2 separate regions of the Homo sapiens genome follow, and region 1 is linked to region 2. The links are contacts of gene promoters, found by promoter capture Hi-C in human tissues and cell types (Jung and others, 2019). All regions are on one chromosome and are shown on one strand. Each heading gives the region's core, a stretch centred on a gene start or on the middle of the fragment in contact. The rest is flanking DNA. Distances are from core to core; before and after follow the strand shown.

Region 1 (3,078 bases), core at 524-3,023, 78 kb after region 2:
TCCATACCCTTGTGGAGGCTTCTCCCACATTGACTCTAGGTGGGGCCATGTAACTTACTTTAGCCATTGGAACATCAGCAAACATGATGCCAGCAGAGGCTTGATGAACACTTAGAATTAGGGCTGGCCCTCTGGGACTGCTGCTGCTACCACATAAGAAGCCTGGGCTGTTCTGCCAGAGGCCATACAGAGGGGACTGAGGCACCCCAGCTCACAGCTGCCCCTACACAATAGAAACGCGAATGAAGTCATATGGGACCATCCAGTCCAGGCAAGGCACCAGATTACACCTGCATGAGTGGCTCCAGGCTAGATGAGCAGGAGAACCTTCCAGCTGAGCACAGTCCAATTGCAGAGTCATGAGCAGATATATGATTGCTATGATAAGCCGTCAAGTTTAGTGTTTATTATGCAGCAATAGATAACTGATACACTCACCAATTCCTATCCTTTATTGTTGTGGGTTGTTCTGGGGGTGTTAACTCCCAGGTGTTCCTGGCTGGCCCTGCACTTGGATTTGTATGTCCAGAGAAAGCCTTCAGTCAGAGAGATATCCTATTTTGAGGCAGGACATCATCTCGGGGTATGAGAACTGTTTATCAGAGCCTTAGGCAACTTCCGGGTGGGCTGAGTTGTTGGGACGGAGCACCAATAGCGCCTGCTACAGTCACCTGGCTCTGAGAATAATCAGAGAAGGCTTCACCCTGGAAGGTTCTGCTTCTAACAACTAAGCTTCATGAAGACAGACACCTGGACTGCCACCATCTAGAACAGTGCCTAGGTGTGCCATAAATAATCATTGGATGTAAGAATGGATGAAGTGTAAAGTTGACTTGAAGCTAAAGGATTTGTAGAAATTAACCAGGTGAACAGGGGCAGCCAGACATCCCTGGGCAGAAAGATCAGCACCAGGCCCCTGTGCCCAGGCCCATGTGACTGGAGTCTAGAGGGGAAGGAGAGTGCAGTACAAAGTGAGACCTGGGACATGTAGGACCTTAGAGACCCCCAGTACGGCTCCCCAGAGCAAATGGAGAGCCAAGGAAAGGTTGAGTTAGAGAAGGAGGCTTTGTTTGATTTGCTTTAGGAAAGACCACTCTGGCTGCTTTGTAGAGAAAGGTCTGGAGGAGCAGAGGCAGAAGGCAGGGGAGGAGGGCATCTCACAGTCCAGACAAAGCACAGACTTGGGTGGGTGTGGAGATGGACAGACATAGGTGGATCCAAGAGATACTGAGGAGGTGAAGTCAGTAGGCCTTGATCAAGGAGCCCAACAAGGGCTCGTTCTGACCTTCCAGCCCTACCTTTGCTCCTGGCTCCTTCCTGATTCATCCATCAATAGCATCTTCACTGGTAAGCCTTCCCCCCAGGCCACACTGGGGGCTCCTCCTCTGTGTCTCCAGGGTGCCTTTTTCTTCAATTATGGCACATCACACATGGAGGTCAGCTTTTAATAGTGCTGGGCTCATGGTAGCCACACCATAAATATTGTCCTACCTTCGTTCCTTCCTCCCTTCCCCCACTTCCTTTCTTCCCTCTCCATTTCCTTCTTTCCTTTTGCATTCACTAAACCTGGTATCAGGTCCCCTGCAATATGAAACCACCCCACATAGCAAAGAGGTGGTGTGGGGAAGGAGCAAAGAACGTGGCATTTGGGTTCAAAGGGATTTCAGCTCAAACCCAGCTCAACTTCTTATTAGCTCTTATTAGTGTGACTTGCTGTCTTGCTGAACCTCACTTTACTTACCTGTGAAATGGTGCTCATGCCTTACAGGACTGGCATAAGGAGAGGCAGGATTATAAGATGCAGCACATGTATCCTCGGCAAAGGAGGCTGTCTTTGTGTTTAACCCCAGATCCGAGGGCTGAGATTGACTTGATGGGACAGGGAGGAAGGGCTGCTTCTGTCTCTCTTTTCTCCTCGTAAAATGCGCAGCCTGGTTTCCTGAGGTTATTAAATGAGGAGCTGGAGTGATTAGGCTGTTCTCTGAGGCCTGGCTTACATCCCATTTTCATTTGTGAAGCCAGTTAGGAGGAGGCAATCTTTTTATTTTTTTCTTTTAAATTAAATTGGCAAAGTTCTGCAGGAATCTTTGAAATGTTCAGAGTGGTGGCTTTTTAAAATAAAAGGAAAGATAAAGGAAGCCATCCCAGTCCTTGGGTCACACAGGGATTGTGTGGCCCCAAACATTGTTTGAAATGACAACCGTCAGCAGATACCCAGGGACCCGCTTTGTTGTAGAGAGAGAATCCTAGGGTTTGTTATAAGGGGTTTTGCCCCACCGAGCCCTCTCAAGAGAGCACTTCCAAGGAGCTCAGTGCATTTTATATCCATTAGAGTTTCACTTGTCAAATCAGAGATGTAATAAAACCGGTCTCCGATGCTTCACAGAGAACGCATGTGAAGACGTTTTGATAAAGTTAAAAGTGTTCTACAAATGTAAGGTATTATTAGCAGTGGCTGCCATGCCCTGAGAGGGGAGGTGATTTTCCCAAGGTCACAGAGAAAGTGGGTGGAAGAGCCAGAAAAAAGAAGTGGAACCTCTTCTTTATCCCGAGGGTTGAGACCTTGTCTCGTTTTACTCAAGTTGTCTACATAGCACTAAAACAGGACCAGCACACAGCAAGTGCACCATGAATACTGCTCACTGAACAAATGAGTGAATGAGTGAATGATGCTCTAAAAGTCCTGGGAGCCTGAAGGACCCTCATAACTCATCTGTACAGGGTCTTCCCATCCCATAACAGGCCTGGACTGGCCCTTGTCTCTCTTTTTCAGCTCTCCGGGTATCTGTGCCCTTGGCCATGTGATTTTGCATTGCCTCTCACTAGTAGACAGAGAGCATTTCTCACCCTCTGACTGTGAACCTGGCCATGTGACTGGCTTTGGCCAATAAAACAAAGTGAGGCAGTGAGCCTAATTCTGAGTTTGGGACTGGAGACGCCTTGCATGGTTCCACTGGCCCTCTGCTGTAGTTGCTGGAGAATGTGCCCGAGCTAGCCAGCTAGAAGCAGAATGAGAAACATATGGAGCACAGCTGCCCTGGTCCAGCTGCCCAAGAGGAGTCCAGCCCAGAGCAGAGC
Region 2 (3,306 bases), core at 734-3,233:
CGCAGCGAGCCGCCGGTGACGAAGATTTCCTTGGCACGCACCGTGGCCGTGTGCGCCAGGGCGAACGTGTCACTGGGGAGCGGCGGGGCAAAGTCCCAGCGGTCCAGGCGGGGGTCGTAACGCTCCACCGAGTTCAGACACTCTCCGCCGATGGCATACAGGTGCCCGTCCAGGGCCACCAGCCGGCAGTGCGGCCGGGCCTGGTTCAGCGGGCACACCTCGCTCCAGATCCCCGTGAGCGGGTTGTAGCAGAAGACGCGGCTGGAGGGCTGGTGCCCGGGCCCCTGGCAGCCGGACACCACGAAGAGATAATTGAAGAGACTGCAGATGGCACAGCCCCGGGACACGGCCTCGGGGGGCATGCGAGCCAGCGGGCGCCAGACATCCTGCTCATCGTCATAGCAACAGAGGCCGCCGGAGTCTTCCTTGGGGCACACGTCAGCCACCACCAGGTACTGGCGGCCCCGGAGCCGGCGCTGCAGGATCAGCTCGCGCTCTGCCCCGCTCAGGCACCCGTAGATGTCCGGGCTGCGCAGCACCTGCAGGTAGTTTTCGCTCATCACCTTGTAGGCCGCCTCTTTCAGGGCCTCCAGGTTCTGCCTCTTGGCCAAGGTCAGCACCTCATAGCAATTGCCCAGATCCAGGCGGACCTGTGGGGCTGAAGCAGGGGTGAGCGGGATATGGAAGAAATTGGTCCCGGCCACCGGCTGCACATGGGGCTCCCGGCTGCTTCTGCCTAAGCCAGGCAGGGCGCCCGGGTCTGGGCAGGGTGGAGCGGGGAGCCGGAAGCCATCTGGCTGCAGCTGCAGCTCTGGGTTCTCCGCTATCTGCAGAAGGCTCTCCTTCCGGCTGAAGCCTCGGGTGGAGGGCCACGGCCCTGTCTGCGGGGAGGCGGCTCTTTCGGCTGCACCCTTTGTGTCACCGGCTTGGCCTCCCGAGGCAGCCCCTGTTCCCAGGGACCCTGGCGGTGGCCTAGGGGATGGAACCTCAGTCAGGGCTGCTGTCCTGGGAGCCAGCCTGCCCTGGAAGATGGCCTGAGAGGTAGATTCCACATAGTAGTCGTACACCTTGCCCTTGAGCCGGGGCTCAACCCCCTCCGCCTTCTGTATGAAATGCTCCTCCATTCGGACGCGGGCTATGGATGAGAAGGTATAGGAGGAGTTGGGGGCGCCCTCCTGCTGATGCAGGGTCAGGTCAACATCGGAGGCAGCCTCGAGAGCCCCAGCCTCTTCTCTGCTGACCCCTATCACACGGGTGAAGACCCAGCTCTGGTTCATGTCACTGCTGCCTTGCAAGGGAGCCACGTAGTGACAGTGGGGAGGTTCTAGTTGCCCCAGTCCTGGATGCTCACGGGGTTTACTGTCCTGCCATGGAGAAGGCTCACCACCGGCACAGCTGCCGTCGGCTGCTGCAATGAGTCCAGCTGGGGAGCTCTTCGGTTCGCTGCCCAAGCGGGGGAAATGGGGAGGGTCAGGGTTACTGCCAACAGCTGTTCTGGTTTCCTGGCTGGGGCAGCAAGGAGGCACCTGCTCAGAGTCCGAGCCCTGCCCGCCCCGCTCCTCACCTGAGCCTTTTCTCTGGGGCTTCCTGTCTGTGGAAGTGGCCCCCGTGACCAGGACATAGGGGCCTCTTGGATTCTCACAGCTGCAGCCCTGTGGTGCTTCAGCCCGCTTGCTGCTCCTCCGACGTCTTGGCCCCCTCAGGAGCACCCCAGGAGAAGCCTCCTGTACAGCAGGCTGCCCTGAGCCCTCTGCTTCCTCCTTGGCTTCTGCCTGGCCATTCCCACCCCACCGCTGGGCTGGGGCAGGCCTCGACTTGTACAGCCTGTAGGCCACAGTCACCAGGAGCAGGGCAGCGGCTGACAGCACCACCTTGCCGGTCAGCTGCATATCCAAATGCCAGTCCTGGGCCTCTGCTCCTCTGGGGAACATGCTTCTCCAGCCAACCTGGGGCTGAGGAATGTCAAGAATCTGATTAATAATTGCCCAGTAGGGACCAGTTCCTGGGTCCTGCTGAGCGGAGGGGAGGGAGTTCTGGGCTGGTTCTGGCTGGCCAGCCGAGGAGAGGAGAGGAGCAAAGGTGACTTTGAGCTGCAGAGGGTGGCCGCTGGGGCCCAGAGCTGGCAGATCCCAGCGGCTGGCCTCCTTCCATGCTTCCCTGGTGGCTGGGGTGGGGGGCCCGCCCAGGGGCTGAGCTTGTGATCAGCCACCTAAGCCAGCTCTGTGGTCAGCAGCTAGGGGATGTTAGGAGTATCCAGTGGGCATACAAAAGAGGAGGAAGCTCTTAACCAAACAGTCACCCGATGCCAGGAAATGCATGGGGTTGGTTATTCTTTATGTGTGTGCTTTATTTTCTCTTTTGCAAGTCCACTGGGCTCAGAGGCTTGGGTGTGGTGAGTCATGGGCAGGTGGAGCCCCAGTAGGCGTGGATGGGGTCATTCTTGTGAGGTCTGCTGGTCCTCACAGTGGGGTCAACTTTATGCTGGCCAAGCAGGGAACGGGAACATGGCAGTGGAGTCTGGAGCCAGGGCATGCAGCCAAGCCACCTGAGCCGGCCCTTGAGTGCCTCTGCCCTCCTTCCCTGCCTGACAAGTTTATTAAGAAAAACCAGCCTTTCTGAGAACAGTGGAGAAAGACATTGCATTAGTGCTCAGATCGGGGTTAGATGTGGACACATCTTCTCTTTTAAAACCAGACAATCTCCTACGGTGAAAGATTGAGGGAAGACTCACGTCTCCCAGACCCCCCCTCACCATTTCCCCTCCCCCATCACCAGTGCTGTGGGTCCTGGACCCAGACTACCTGGCTCTGCTACTTACCAACTATATGACCTTAGGCAAGAGACCTCACCGCTCTGTGCTTTGTCTGAAAAAGGAGGATGACAGCATACGCACCTCATCAGCTTGTGGGGAGAACTAAATGGGCTACTAGGAATAAACACTGGGGCAGAGCCCCCATCATGAAAGCTTAGTAAATATGAACTATTCTCTGCTTCTTCCTCCTTTTCCTCTTTCTGATCATCGGCACCATCATCGCTAGTATCAATTGTCATCAGAGGACCTTCCAAAGCACAGAACTAATTCTACCCTTCTCCTGACCAAGGTCCTCAAAGAGTCCCCAAAGTCCTGTGCAGGGGTCTCAAACTCTTGCTGCATATGGAGGCTGGGTAGGTAAAGTGAACAAGTAAGGACGTCTGTCCGCCCCACCCCAGCCGATGGTATCAGGCCCAGCATTGCCTCATCCTCCCACTGTCGCAAAAAGCTTAGAATCCCAGTAGTGACATAATCACTCTCAATTTTAAAATGTT

Evidence for each region. Contacts are between HindIII fragments. The study calls those that stand out against the background at their distance.
Region 1: a fragment that was not itself captured here is called in contact with the fragment with the promoter of KLHDC7A in region 2 in 3 of the 25 tissues and cell types used here (liver, stomach and thymus).

Annotation. Positions count from the first base shown.
Region 1 is chr1:18,401,909-18,404,986 of GRCh38, reverse strand. No RefSeq gene overlaps it. Among named protein-coding and RNA genes, the nearest start is that of KLHDC7A, 77 kb to the left of the region's middle. The HindIII fragment of the contact is 5,671 bases long and covers 1-3,078 here.
Region 2 is chr1:18,479,607-18,482,912 of GRCh38, reverse strand. KLHDC7A (kelch domain containing 7A) reads right to left here and starts at 1,983. Exons shown (of 1, transcript NM_152375.3): 1 at 1-1,983. The coding sequence starts at 1,931. RefSeq lists enhancers at 1,161-2,032, 2,033-2,905. The HindIII fragment of the contact is 16,937 bases long and covers 1-3,306 here.